Regions from separate parts of the Homo sapiens genome. Here region 2 is linked to region 1. The links are contacts of gene promoters, found by promoter capture Hi-C in blood cells and fetal thymus (Javierre and others, 2016). All regions are on one chromosome and are shown on one strand. Each heading gives the region's core, a stretch centred on a gene start or on the middle of the fragment in contact. The rest is flanking DNA. Distances are from core to core; before and after follow the strand shown. Region 1 holds the start of MRTFA (myocardin related transcription factor A). Region 2 overlaps MRTFA (myocardin related transcription factor A).

What was found. Contacts are between HindIII fragments. The CHiCAGO score rates a contact against its expected background, and 5 or more counts as called.
Region 2: a contact is called between a fragment that was not itself captured here and the fragment with the promoter of MRTFA in region 1, in 13 of 17 cell types (endothelial precursors, total CD8 T cells, total CD4 T cells and 10 more). The highest score is 8.6, in endothelial precursors.

Annotation. Positions count from the first base shown.
Region 1 is chr22:40,631,914-40,639,310 of GRCh38, reverse strand. MRTFA (myocardin related transcription factor A) reads left to right here and starts at 2,592. Exons shown (of 15, transcript NM_020831.6): 1 at 2,592-2,833. RefSeq lists enhancers at 319-1,518, 2,258-2,567 and a silencer at 2,828-3,137. The HindIII fragment of the contact is 6,464 bases long and covers 1-5,584 here.
Region 2 is chr22:40,431,106-40,438,502 of GRCh38, reverse strand. MRTFA (myocardin related transcription factor A) reads left to right here. Exons shown (of 15, transcript NM_020831.6): 5 at 2,949-3,004; 6 at 7,023-7,098. Among named protein-coding and RNA genes, the nearest start is that of SGSM3, 64 kb to the right of the region's middle. RefSeq lists enhancers at 1,473-1,522, 1,593-1,642, 1,763-1,892, 2,153-2,212. The HindIII fragment of the contact is 992 bases long and covers 2,400-3,391 here.

The DNA.
Region 1 (7,397 bases), core at 1,343-3,842:
AATAAAATACACTTGTGCCTCCTCATTACCTGGGCTTTTTAAGGAGGGCTGTGTCTGGGTGGGTACTATCTGGAATGCCCCACCTTGGTCATGTTTTGGGGAAATCTGCCCCACCCCAATAATTCCAGTGGGGGTACTTTCTCCTCCGAGGCGCACTTCTGCATCCTCTTTTTTTTTTTTTTTTTTAAATACGGAGTCTCGCTCTGTCGCCCAGGCTGGTGTGCAGTGGCGCCATCTCGGCTCACTGCAAGCTCCGCCTCCCGGGTTCATGCCATTCTCCTGCCTCAGCCTCCCGAGTAGCTGGGACTTGACAGGCGCCCGCCACCACGCCCAGCTAATTTTTTCTGTTTTTAGTAGAGACGGGGTTTCACCGTGTTAGCCAGGATGGTCTTGATCTCCTGACCTCGTGATCCGCCCGCCTCGGCCTCCCAAAGCGCTGGGATTACAGGCGTGAGTCACCGCGCCCGGACTGCATCCTGTTTTTGTTTTTTGTTTTGAGATGGAGTCTCACTCTGTCGCCCAGGCTGGAGTGCAGTGGCGCGATCTCAGCTCACTGCAAGCTCTGCCTCCCAGGTTCCGCCATTCTCCTGCCTCAGCCTCCCGAGTAGCTGGGACTACAGGCGCCCGCCACCACGCCCAGCTAATTTTTTCTGTTTTTTAGTAGAGACGGGGTTTCACCGTGTTGGCCAAGATGGTCTTGGTCTCCTGACCTCGTGATCCGCCCGCCTCGACCTCCCAAAGTGCTGGGATTATAGGCGTGAGCCACCGCACCCGGCCTGCATCCTGTTTTAGTCACCTGGGATACCGGCCTGGCATTGCAGTCACCGCAGTACGTGCCTTAGCATCCTCCAGTTTGGTGTAAGCACCCCCAGGGTAGTGACTGTATCTCATCTAGCTTACCCCCTCAGTGTTCTTACTCAAAAAATATTTATCGAATAAATAATTTTATCAGGTATTTTGTGCAAGAATTTTTGCCTTGGGGAAGGTGTGTGTGACTAAGAGCCCACGAGGATCCCGTCTAACTCCAAGATTCTGCGACCGGCATTGGAAGCTGATTTATAGTGAGTAATTGGGAATACCCAAGGCCACTTTGACTTTTGCCGCCATTGGATAGAGCAGCACCCTCTCCTACCCTCCCTCTGAGTTCACCCATGGGCAGTCCCAGAAGCCTTTGATGGGGAAAAGGGGGTCATAGTGAGAATTTACCTTGGAATGTAAAGTGAGCCGCCCCTTTTCAGTCTTTGCATCTTCACGCGGGTCCGCCCCAAACCTAGAAGAACGCCCCTGACCACTTCTTCTTCTATCTACTGTTACTCCTTCCTCTGACTCTGGTGACCCCATCCCGGAAGCCTTCCGGAAAGCGCTTCCCCCTTTTCCACCCCATCGAGTTGGGGTTATTTCTCCTTTTCTGGGCTCTCTCCCATTGCTGGGGAGGAAGGCGGATACGAAGGGCCTGCATGACCGCAGCTGTCATCACAGTGGGCCTGGCTTACCTTGTTGCTCTCTCCCCTTTCGCCTTTCTCCTTTCTCCCTGTTGCAGTCATGGACTTCACTCATAATACATATACATATACATATACATATACATATACATATACATATACACATACACATACACATACACATACACATACACATACACATACATATACATGTTTTTAAATCGGGCAGCCACCCGCTCCCCGCCCTCAGCCCGGAATAGGTTCAGAGAGGTGCCCGGGTTCACTTGCGGAGCGTGTGGCCTCTGCGCCTAACGCGCGCCCCTTCACTACACGAATGGGTGCGGGCAAGGGTATAGGATTTTAGAATTCCAAGAGTTGTCGGGGGTCATCCCGTGGAATCCTCTTTTTTGCAGATGCTCTTCCTGGAGCCTTCCGATGCAAGCTCTTGGGCTCACGCAGCCCTTTTCCTCTTCTAAGCCCAGAGCGCTTTCGCTGCTGCTGATCTCCACGGCCTCGGCAGATAGGGAGGGGCAGGCAGGTGTCAGCGTCCTCCCTTTCACCGTTGGGGAAACTGACTCAGAGAAACAAGGCGACGGGCCTCGGCGGGGCGGGACCGTAACGGGAATTCAAGGCTCCAGGCCAGAGCGGAATTTATTGTGTCTCGTTTTGGGAAGCGTGAATGTGAAATGATCGACTTCGGAGCCCCAGGCGGAGACCCTTCAGTCCCCGACAAGAATCGGGATGGGGTCTGGGATTAATGCAGTAATTACTCGCGCCTGGGCATTGACCCCTTGGCAACTTCGCAAGATCCGGCAGGGTCCACCGCCCTTCCCTTCACAGGGTGACCACAGGGCTGCGGCCTCTTTAAGGCCCAGAGCTCCGCCCCCGGCTCGTCGCCAACCCCCTCGCCGCAGCTCAGCCAGTTCCAGACTTTCCTCAGAGATGAGGTCATCTCCCCGTTGCCCATTGGCTGCGCCGTGCCGTCAGTCACAGGAAGTCAGGCCGCCGTTTTCGCCTTCTTCATGCCGCTTCCTTCTCCGCCCGCCCTTTAGTCCGCCGATCACGACCCCGATCAGGCCTCTGATTGGCTAGCGCCGCCGTCACTTCTCCAGCGGACAGTCTTCAGGACGGGAGGCGGGCGTGGTGGGCGGGCCCGCAGCTTCCGTGGCTGAGAGGAGCCGGCGGCGGCAGTGTCTGTGGTGGCCGCGGCGGCGAGAGCGACGGTCCCATCTTTCCCACCCTCTTGGTTGCCGCTGGCCACACGCCCTCCGCTGGCGGCGACTTCTCAGCTCCGTGCGCCCGGGCTGGACAGTGAGCCTCGAGAGGAGACGCGGGCGGCTAGAGCCGGAGTGGGGCGAGCCGCGGAACCCGGCCGGGAGCCGCGCGAGGCGGTGAGTGAGAGTCCGGGTTGGGGACCCCTCCCCCACCGCGGCCTCGCCCCGCCTGGAGCATCCTTTTTCCCCCCCGACCCTGCTGCGCGCGTCCTCGGGGGGTCGGGCGAGGCGGCCCTCGCGTCCCCTGCCCTCTTCTTGCCGGCCTTCTGCCCCTGCCCTCGGGGCCGGAGTCGCAGAGCGGCGGTCACTGTGCCGGGGCTGGGACCCGGGCCGGGCCGGGCGGGCGGGCGCGGTCGTGCACCTGTGCACTGCCTGGCAGGGCTGTGCTGCGCGGGGCGGGGAGGCACGGAGGTCCTCGCCCTCGCTTCTCCCGGGATGTGTTTTGATTGCAGGGACGGGGTGTCGGCCGCTTTCTCTGGGGTCTTGTGCAGACCTTCAGGATCCAAGTGCAGTCCTTGGGATTCCCAGGCAAGGAGGCTCAGCTGGACTTGTTGGTGCCAGTATAGCAAACCTGAATGCTGCCAGGTGTACAGGGCTCTGCAAATCTGAAACTTGATGGCCAAGAACTTTACCTCCTAAGAAAGCGTCTGTCAGGACGCTGATGCAGTCCACCCTCCCCGCTTCGGGTACCTTTGATACTCCATAGTGCCTAGGGCTGGACCTTTTGAGTCGACTCCCAAACCTGCCACTTGCTAGCTGTGTAATCTTGTGCCTTGGTTTCCTCGTCTGAAAAATGAGGATAATAGCACCAATCGCATACGGTTGTTTGTTGTAAGTGTCGAATGAAATAATTCACGTGAAGCGTTTGACACAGTGCTTGGCCCATAGTAAGGGCCCAAGAAATGTTTGCTTTTGGGATGTTGAGAATGCCTGGTTTGCCTGTGTGCCTTTAAGCACTAGCCCAGCTTGGCATTGTCAAGATTTCTCTCTGTTGTCTCCCTGTTATGCAGCATAACGAAAGGGCAGTTGAATGGTTAACTTGCTTGCCAGCCTCTGTTTGGCATGAAGTGTGTGTATATACAGGAATGTGGAATACATCACTTAAATATAATAATGGAATTACCCCATGCTTCGTATGTTTTTACATAGTTTTAAACTCATAAGACGTCTGGAATGTCCCCGAGTTGCAAGTTTTTGAGATCTTTTCAGGGTCCTTTCTACATCAAGCCGAAGCCTGTAACGTTAAGACTTATTGTCAGTAAGAAGTTAGACCTACATGTTTTACTTCAGAAGACCCCCAAAACTCCAAATGTCACTTACGCAGTTTTACTGTTGAAAAGCAGTCATCTCCCGGGGGTGAGGTGGTACAGCCAGCTGGCCCACAGCCCTATGACTGCAGGGTGGGGAACCTTTGGCTGGAAGTTATTAAACTAAGTTTTGCTTAATGTCGTTTGCATTTTTCATAGCGAACCAAAGGGCTTTATGTTACTGTTTCTTATTGAAATGATTTAGAAAGAAGCAATCCATTACTGCGTTCTTTAAAAACACCTGCAAAGAAAAAAATATCTGTAGTTTAGCTCTAGTGTTTGTTTCAGTTTTTGGCCAATAACTATTAAGAAGAGCCCGTTTTTAAGAAGGCTTCCAAAAGTCACATCCACTTGAATAAGTTATTTAGAGTCAAATCAAGAGAGGTGGAAGAGTAATATGTATCCCATCACCCAAAAGTATTTATTGGAGAGTTTCCATGTCCTTAGTACTCTGCCAGATGCTATTAGGGAGTGATTAAAAAGAGTATGAAATAGAATCTCAGCCTATAAAGGGCAAAACCATAAAGTTTGGGTCACCCGTTAGTAATTACAAGTACTACTTAAGGGATGACTTCATTTATTCATTCAACAGACTTTTTGTTCCATGTTTGTAACGTGCCAGGTGTTTTTCTAAGGGCTGGGGCTGTCAAGATAAGTGAGATATGGTCCCTGCTCATGAGGAGCTCACAGTCTAGTGGGAGAGGCAAAAAATGACAGATGATTGTAACGCGCTGAAATACACTCTAAATCCAGACTTCACTGGGAGAGTCAAGGGAGCTTTTCCTGTGGATGTATGGGAAGGCTTCAAAGAAAATGGCATTTGAGCTGAATGTTAACTCAGATGAAGGAGAGGAAATTCCAAAGAGAAATAACAGCTTGGAAAGTTTTCCTGATAGGCGGGGCACAGTGGCTTACGCCTGTAATCCTAGCACTTCGGGAGGCCAAGGCAGGAGGATCACTTGAGGCCAGGAGTTCGAGTTGAGACCCGCTTGGGCAACATAATGATAGCTTGTCTCCACAAAAAAGTTAAAGAATTAGCAGACGTGGTGGCTTGCACCTGTAGTCCCAGCTACTCAGGAGGCTGAGGCTGGAGGATCCCTTGAGCCCAGGAGTTTGAGGTGGCAGTAAGCTATGTTCACACTGCCCTCCATCCTGAATGTGCGGTGAGACCCTGTCTCAAAAAAAAAAAAAAATCCTGATAAATCTTCTGATATACCAGTTATAAGCCCCAGGAAGGGAGAAGGAAACTAACATTCCTTGATGCCCACTACATAAAAGCTAGGCTTTGATTGTGTTGCTTTAGGATAGGGAAATAGGCTGCAACTAGTTAAATAACTCATTTAGGGATACAGAAGTTAACAGAACCAGGACTTGAATCTCTGACTTAAAAGTATGGTATACGGTTCCTTTTAACATGCTTTTGTAGAGGTAAATATGAAAGAGGTTAGAAAGTTCTACCCATATTATCATTATTATCATTTTACTACATCTATTGCAAGTTACTTTCTGTGAAATGTTTCATATTTGATTTAGTCACTAAGGCGATATAATAAATAAAGCTTATCTTTATAAGCTTTATATATGGCAATATAATAAATAAAGGCTATCTTTATTTATATATTTTATACTTATAAATTTGGTGATATTTCCTAAAAAGTATGGCCTGTGGGAACATTCAGTAAAAATGGAGTACATTGATATATACAGATTCCATATGAAGCACTTTACTAACTTTGTTAAACAGGTATAAACTTTCTTTGAGAGTGCAGCTTAAATACTTATTTAAGTGTATTTAAAAAACGATTTGTAGATTTACAGCCATTTAATTTACAAAGGGAAATTTAGAATTTTTAAGTTGTATTAACAAAGATCGTTGTATTATATTTCGAGAAAACACTGTGGCAAGCTCATATACTACTGTAAGCTCCCCAGGGGTGAGGATATTTGTTTTTCTTCCCAGCTTCAAAGGCAGTTCTTGGGACATAGCAGGTGCTCAGTAAATATTTCTTGAATATAAGATGAACATGAACAAATATATATTTACTCCGTGTTCTTGTGTGTGTATATATATTCACATAAATGCTAGGGTTGATAGTTGCAATTGACAAACATAAGAAACATTTCTTTACTGAGAAAAAGCTTTGGTCAGGAGGTTATATTTCAGGTTTTTGAAAGAGAAAAGAGAAAACATTGATGGGTTATGGATGAAGTGGTATAGGCTTGGGGAGTAGTTTTTTATAAATGAATACATTTTGGAAGAAGGGGGACATTGAACAAAGAGAATGACCCACTGACACAATTCAGCAAATATGGGCGCTGTTTATGTCTAAGGCTTTAATAGAGTTTTGAGAATCAAGGAAATAGTCTCCGCTCTCAAGGAAATTAGAGTTTTGGAGAGCGGGTGTGTTAACTGTCTTCCTGTGTAACAGATTACCTCGAAAGTTAGTGTTTAAGACAACATTTCTTATTTTTCACAGTTTCTGTGAGTCAGGAATTTGGAATCAGCTTGGCTGAGTGATTCAAACTCAGGTCTCTCAAAAAATTGCAATAATGGCTGGGCACGGTGGCTCACACATGTATTCTCAGCATTTTGGGAGGCTGAGGCAGGTGGATCCCTTGAGGTCAGGAGATCGAGACCAGCCTGGCCAACATGGGGAAACCCCGTCGCTACTAAAAATACAAAAATTAGGTAGGTTTGGTGATGCACGCCTGTAGTCCCAGCTACTCAGGAGGCTAAGGCATGAGAATCACTTGAACCTGGGAGGCGGAGGTTGCAGTGAGCCAAGATTGCACCACTGCACTCCAGCCTGGGCGGCAGAGTATCTAAAAAAAAAAAATTATCTGGGAGTGGCAGCCCATGCCTGTAATCCCAGCTACTCAGGAGGCTGAGGCATAAGAATTGCTTGAACCAGGGAGGTGGAGGTTGCAGTGAGCTGAGATCGTGCCACTGCACTCCAGCCTGGGTGACAGAGCAAAACTGTCTCAAAAAAAAAAAATTGCAGTAATATGTCAGCTGAGGTAGCAGTCATCTGAAGGCTTGACTGAGGCTGGTGAATCCTTTTTCAAGGTGGCTACTCATATTGCTGGCAGGTTGGTGCAGGCTGTTGGTGGGAGATCTCAATTCCTCTTCATGTGGGCCTCTCCGCATGAATGCCTTCATGGCATGGCAGCCAGCTTGCCTCAGAGCATGTAATACAAAAGACCAAGCTGCTGCATTGACTTTTATGACCTAGCTTCAGAAGTCACATACCATCATTTTTCCAGTATTCTGTTGGCCACACATTGTGGGAAGGGACTACACAAGAATGTAAATGGCAGGAGGTGAGGGTCATTGGGGGCCATCTTGGAGGCTGGCCACGACAGTGGGTAAAGTA
Region 2 (7,397 bases), core at 1,646-4,145, 200 kb after region 1:
CAAGATGTTCTGGTGAATTGTTCTTCTAGAAGTTGGGTTTGTGCCTTTGGGTTTGTGCCTTACCCTTTGGGGATAGCCAGTGTGGGTTGTTGAGGCAGCAAGTCAGCCAGGGTTTTAGACAGAGAATCTCTGGCTGTGGTACAGAAACTAGCTGGCCTGTAAGTGAATCAAGCCAGTGATTCAACCAAATTACAGCATTTGGTGACAGCAACACCTGAATATATCGACACATATACCATTTGGTTCAGGGCACTCTCACTGGTGTTTCTTCCTTACAAGGGTTCTGAGAGGTGGGCAGATTCTCACTCTGGAAGAAAATTAGACCCAGAAAGCAGTCAAAACCCATGTCACCCAGCAGTAATTGGTAGCACTCAGTACTAGAACACAGATCCCTTGACTGTCTATCCAGAACTTCTGTGAGGTTTCGAACCCGGTTGAGAACCAGAATTCTGGCTGTTTAGATGAAAGTTTAGAGCTCTGCCGCAGAATCCTCCTGTCCTCCTGTCACTAGTCACCTTGTGTCCGTTTCTTACAGAATACTCACTAATTCATCGAGTGAATAATTATTGAGGGTATACTGTGTGCCTGGTATTCTAGGCACTTGGGGAATGCTGTGAGTGACTAAAAAAATAGACAAAACCCTTGCTGTGCTCTGATGGGGACATGTTGTAAATGTAAACGTGGGAGACTGAGAGTAAACAAGAAAAGTATGTAGTATTCCGCCTTTTTTTTTTTTTTTTGAGACGGAGTCTTGCTCTGTCTCCCAGGCTGGAGTGCAGTGGCACTATCTTGGCGCACTGCAACCTCTGCCTCCTGAGTTCAAGTGATTCTCCTGCCTCAGTCTCCTGAGTAGCTGGGATTACAGGCACCCTCTACCATGCCTGTACAAAAATGTTTGTATTTTTAGTAGAGACGGGGTTTCACCATGTTGGCCAGGCTCGTCTCGAACTCCTTACCTCATGATCTGCCCACCTCGGCTTCCCAAAGTGCTGGGATTGCAGGCGTGAGCCACCATGCCCAGCCAGATACGTAGTATTTATATAAAGACTGTCAAGACAGTGATGAGTGCTGCGGAGAAAAATGAGGCAGAAAAGGAAGCTGGGGTGGGGTGGACAGTGTCCGTTTTCTCTTGATTCTTTGTACTTACTGTCTCATGCATGTGCTAAGCTTTCCAAGAGCCAAGGTTACGTGTGATGCATCACACCCGGGTTCCTGCAGAGCAGGACGTTTGGAGTTGAGCTAGCGTTACACAGTAGAAGCAGGTGCAGGGGGTGTCTATTTACCCACTGAAATGCCCACGACCTGCCCATGTAAGAAGTGGGGAATCCTGGATAGTGCCCAGGTAGGTTGGGGAGGTAACTTGTACTGGTTTTTCTTTGATGTTATTTGTTAAATCTAGAGCTCCCCCTTCTGTTAGAAGATGGGATCTCAGTAGTACTTTTAAGACTGTAGTTTCTTTTTTATCTTAAGATTCACAAAAAATTTTTAAAAATAAATACCACTGGGACAATTGAAGCTTTCTTCTGGGACTGCTGTTGCTGAGGCCCAGCCCCCCGCTGGGGGTGGAGAGGAAGGAGGAAGAAGCACAACGGCCCAGGCAGGATAGGGTCCTATCTATGCTCTCTTGCTACTTTTAGCAGCTCCTTAACCCTGCACTCCTACCGCAGCCAGCAGCCTAGCAAAAGTTATCTCTGCTCGCAGTTTCACAGCTCTTTGGAAATTCTAGGGCAGGAGAAGTGAAACTGACCACAGTCTTATAAATTTCTCTCTTATTGCCTCTGTTCCCTACTTGAAGTGAGTCAGGCCTTTCCCTCTCATCCTCAGAGTGTCTTAAGTTGCTATTTGTCCTTACAGCCAAGTTTTTGACAAAAGGAGTCAGACCTTCCATTCATGGTGCAGCCTTTCTGGAGGCTCTTGGTTTGGTCTTGCCACCTGAGTGTTGTTTGCAGAAGTCGAGACTTGTGGTCTTTGTGTGGTATCCCCAGAATAGAGCTGAGCCCTTCGTCTCAGCTGTCGGTTGTGTGTGTTCCTTCACATACAATTGCCATGGGGTTCTTTTAGTCCTTAGAGATGAAATTCAAGTTAATTTTAGCAGCACTATAAATAACAGGTGCAGTGAAGAAGGAAATAGTGCCGAGTGGACATATATCTTTTTGGTTTTAACTGTCCCATTGAAACAGTTTGGCCACTTTATGATTCCTCGTGAGGTTGAGGAAGTAAGGTTAATTTGGCATGCATCTGTGCCCCTTCCTGTGTGCAGGTGTCCTGAGAATAATGTGAGGCCTAGCAGGCGTTCTTGGAGTCCTAGCTGAAGGGGGATTTGCGGCTGACGGTCCAGTCATGGGCCAGGGTGTTTGTTAAAGTTACATTCCATGGGTGCACTTTATATAGCCCAAGCTTAGGCAGTGACAGTTCCCATTAGGAGTCATATTTTGGTTTCTACCAAAACTGTTTGAATGGGGTAGCTAAACCATAAAGATACATGCTTACTCAGGTGTCATTGCCTTCACTTCAACTGATATTTATAGTACTACTAACAGTAATGTGATTTTTTTTTTTTTTTTTTGGGGGACGGTTTCTCGCTCTGTTGCCCAGGCTAGAGTGCAGTGGCGCAATCTCGGCTTACTGCAAGCTCTGCCTCCCAGGTTCACGCCATTCTCCTGCCTCAGCCTCCCTTGTAGCTGGGACTTCAGGCGCCCACCACCACCACGCCTGGCTAATTTTTTGTATTTTTAGTAGAGACAGGGTTTCACCATGTTAGCCAGGATGGTCTCGATCTCCTGACCTCGTGATCTGCCTGCCTCAGCCTCCCAAAGTGTTGGGATTACAGGCGTGAGCCACCACGCCCAGCCAGTAACATGAATTTAAGATGCCTTCTCCACTGAATATCGTAGCACTAGACATGATGCTTCGCTTGAAGGTAATCTTTACGGTTCTTCTCTCAACAGCTTTGAAAAGTCCAGCCGCATTTCATGAGCAGAGAAGGAGCTTGGAGCGGGCCAGGGTAAGGTACCTTTTTTCCCCCTCAGAACTCCCAAAGAGCATTTTCAGAGCTCATTGCATTGCTGGTTATATTTCCATTTAGAGCTTTCCATAGAACTCTGAGGCCAGAGCCTGCTAGACTCTAGGGCCAGCCCTGGCCTTGTGGTTTTAAATGGAAAGCTCTGCTTCTCCTACTTCATCCCTTCTCTCATTTACCTCCCATGGTGATTATATGGAACATGATTGGAATGAGGTTTCTCTTTTTGTACATTTAAGGATATGGAATGATCACCCGATCCTCCTTGCCTGAATTTTGGAGTGCTTTGGAGACCACTGGTATTTCCCCATCTTTAATTCCACTTAACGTTTTGTAGATGTTGGGACACAAACATTAGCCAATGGAAAAGCTTCCCAAGTCCGGGGTTACACTGGCCACACCTCACAGGACGGGCATTCCAAGGGGCAGGAAACCTTCTTGGTCTCCATCTGCCCAGAGTAGGTGGTATCCACTTGACTCTTGTGGAAAGCAGAAACTGGCCCACACTCCAAGCCCAAGTTTTCTGCCACAGCACCTTACTTGCGTCCCCATCCCAACTCTGTTTCGGTTCCCCAGGGGCCCCTGAGGAATATTCTGCTGCCCAGTGTGGGTAGAGATGGGGAAGTCACCAGAACTTGCTTCCCCCTCACACTCCCTTTACTTTTTCCTTTCACATAAAATCATGGGAAGATAATCCCCCTAGACAGATCATGGGCTGCATCTCCTTAAGACCCACGGCTATTTTATTTTACTTTATTTTTTGAGACGGAGTCTCACTCTGTCACCCAGGCTGGAGTGCAGTGGCGTGATCTCAGTTCACCGCAGCCTCCGCCTACCAGATTCAAGCGATTCTCCTGCCTCAGCCTCCCAAGTAACTGGACCTACAGGCTCCCGCCACCACGCCTGGGTAATTTTTGTATTTTTAGTAGAGATGGGGTTTCACCATGTTGGCCAGCCTGGTCTCAAACTCTTGGCCTCAAGTGATCTGCCTGCCTTGCCCTTCCAAAGTCCTGGGATTACAGGCATGAGCCACCACACCCAGCCTCACAGCTATTTTAGAGTCTCAGAAATATTTACCTCCAAGACTTTTTTTTTTTTTTTTTAAACTTTCTTTCATTCCCCTCTCCCCAGAAAATCATGATTAATTCTTAGAGTAAGTGGAAAGAATGAGGTCATGGGTCCTGGGAACCAAAGGAGTAACAAGCAGCAGTGGTTTAGTTTGCTGAGAGCACTGGAGAGTACAGTGTTGGGGGAAAGGATGGCGTTGCCTGTGCGCCTATTCGGTCAGAAGACTGGGCACCATTTACTTGACTGCTTCTCAAATAGGCAGGGACCAGCAGAGCTGATTAGAAGAGACTGTTTTATTGAGCACCTTTATGTAAGAGGTTGTATCTGTTTCTTTTTTATCCTCACATCAACTCTTATGAATTAGGTGGTATTATCCTCATTTTATAGATGCAGCTAAGAGAAGTTAACTCACTTGTCCAGCCAATAAGTGGCAAAGCTGGGAGTCAAACCTTTGTGGATTCTAGATTTTTTTTGAGCAAAATGATTTTATTTCCTAACACATGGTAACCATAACGTTCAATTTGCTTACCATGCACATCTATTCACAAATGACTTCCACATTACAATAACTACTTCCATATTTACACATGTACTAAAAATTATCTTAGTTGAGATATGAAACATGAATATATTGGATTGGTTATAGCAGAATTTGCTTTACTTAATTCTAAAAGCTTAAAGCTTTGAAAAGCTGCTACTTTTGCATCTCATACTTCCAGATGAATAAGACACAGCAATATCAGCTCGTATTCAAGAGAAGTTTCATTTCTTTTTCTGGTGTTGGAACCAGCTGCTCACATCTGTGCGTGCTACATAAGGCAGCTATACATGGTGGTGGGAAAGCATCCACAATGGCTTCAGCTATGTCAGGATCACACTTGAGGGGCTCTGAGATGCTGTTGTATTTACACAACTGATTGCTTTGTTTTCCTTTTTTTGTAATTTTAGAGGTGGGATTTTGCTATGTTGCCCAGGCTGAATCCCAACTCTTGGGCTTAAGCAATCCTTCTGCCTTTGACCTCCTGAATAGCTGGGATGTGTAGGCATCTACCACTGTACCTTGTCAAACTGATTTTGTTCCCTCAGTTTTCTTCGACACAAATGTGCTTCAGTGGTCATGAATGCCTTTAATGATATCAGTTGCAAAATCCGTATCTTTAAATTTGGCCCTGAAAGTTCTCTGGTTTTCCATCAGAGACCTTATACCCTCTAAACCAGTCCAGAGTAGCCTCTAGGTAGTCAGGTTTCAGCCATTTGACATCATTAATATGTTTACTATTTGTCACAAAGGATACAACTCAGGAACAGCCAGGTGGAAGAGATGTGTAGGTATGTGGGAAGGGATGAGGAGCTTTTGTGCTCTCTCCAGGTGGGTGTGTCACCCTCCTAGCACCTCCATGCCTTTAACAAACCAGAAGCTCCTCCATATATTTTCTTAATCAGTACTATATTCTACCTCAGTCATGGCCACTGGTCAGAGCTTCAGATGGCTTAGAGAATAAGTCTTCCACTGTCATCTGTGAAGACTTGCGGCACCTGCTCTACCAATCTCTGCTGCAGCTGAGGCAGTACTTCTGCCCACTGCACGTGGGGTGATAGAGCCAGAGCCCACAGTCACTTTAAACCATCTCCTGGATTGCTCAGCCTCCCCTGGGCTGGCACAGAGCTGCCCAGCCAGAACAACAAGGCAGCAGATGGCTAGGTGAGGACAAGTCTTTTTTTTTTTTTCTTTTTCTTCATTTTTTTCCAGTCTTTACCTTTACTATATATAATGTCCTCTGAGGCTTCATTGCCTAGTGTCCTTTGGCTTGTCTTATCCTATGCTGGTCTTGATCCACTAATGTTCTGTGGTTTGAAAATGTTGGTGCAGAGGTTAAGAGCACAGACTCTATAGAGTCAGGTCCAGGGGAATATATATATATTATAATTAGCCCCGTTTGGTGGGATGGCTCTGTGACTGTTGAGGGACTGGTTTAGTTTGCCCAGAGTCTCATAAATGCAGAAATTAGGACATTGGACTTTGAGGAACTAGAGCTTTGCTACCATGTGTCAAAATTCATATTCCATTTGGCAGCCATTCAAAATGAATGGAAAATGCCCATGAGATCATGCAGTGTTACAGGTTTTTGGGGTTTTTTTTTGGTTTTTGGTTTTTTTTGTTTGTTTTTTGAGACGGAGTTTCGCTCTTGTTGCCCAGGCTGGAGTGCAGTGGCGCAGTCTTGGCTCACTGCAGCCTCCACCTCACGAGTTCAAGTGATTCTCCTGCTTCAGCCTCCCAAGTAGCTGGGATTACAGGCGCCAGCCACCACATCTGGCTAATTTTTGTATTTTTAGTAGAGACAGGGTTTCACCACATTGGCCAGGCTGGTCTCAAACTCCTGACCTCAGGTGATCCACCCACCTTGGCCTCCCAAAGTGCTGGGATTACAGGCTTGAGCCACCGTGCCTGGCCCAATGTTACATTTCTTAAAGCAGGATATAAAATCATATTCAGTGTGATTACAGCGCTGCAAAGTTAAGCCTATTTTCTGCATGGAAGAATAACTAGAAACAGATATCCCAGAATACTAAGAGTGGCTGATTAAAGTTTATTTTATTTTATTTTTCTTTCTAGTTTTCTAAATGTTTTTTGCTGGACATATATTACTTTTATGGTAGTAGAAGTAATAGTTTTTTAATAGATATATTGTCAGTCCAGCCTCAGAGACACAGATGGTCTTGAAGGATGGTGCCCTTCCTTGGCAGGTGCAGTTGGATTTTGGTGTGCTCTCCCCAGGCCTACTCTTGCCTCCGAACCCTGCAGTCACCAAGTTAAGGTTGTGGGAACTGCAGAGGTGGTCAGCAGCTACCATGGCCAAGGCTGCTGTTGTGATCCTGTCCATGCCATAAGCCTGTGACCTGGATTTGAGAGTTTCTTGGTGTGTTTTTTCTGTAGACAGAGGACTATCTCAAACGGAAGATTCGTTCCCGGCCGGAGAGATCGGAGCTGGTCAGGATGCACATTTTGGAAGGTGTGGAGATTGGAATTGCTTTTCCATCTAGATCCAGTTCTCACTGTGTGTACTCACTACTGCACTACCCATTTCCTTCCTGCCTCTTTCTTCTCCCATTTCTGTTGGCAGTGGGTAAGCCAGAGCCTTAACACCGTACGACAGCTGTGCCATGGTAGCTGCCACTGGTCTGAGGGACTCTCAAAAAGCACAGTCACATGCTGTTAGTTTGGCTTGGCCTCTTCTCCAGGGTCTCACCATCCCTTGGTGTGAGATCGCTTCTCTCTGCCAAAATCTGTTTTGTTTTGTTTAAGACACAG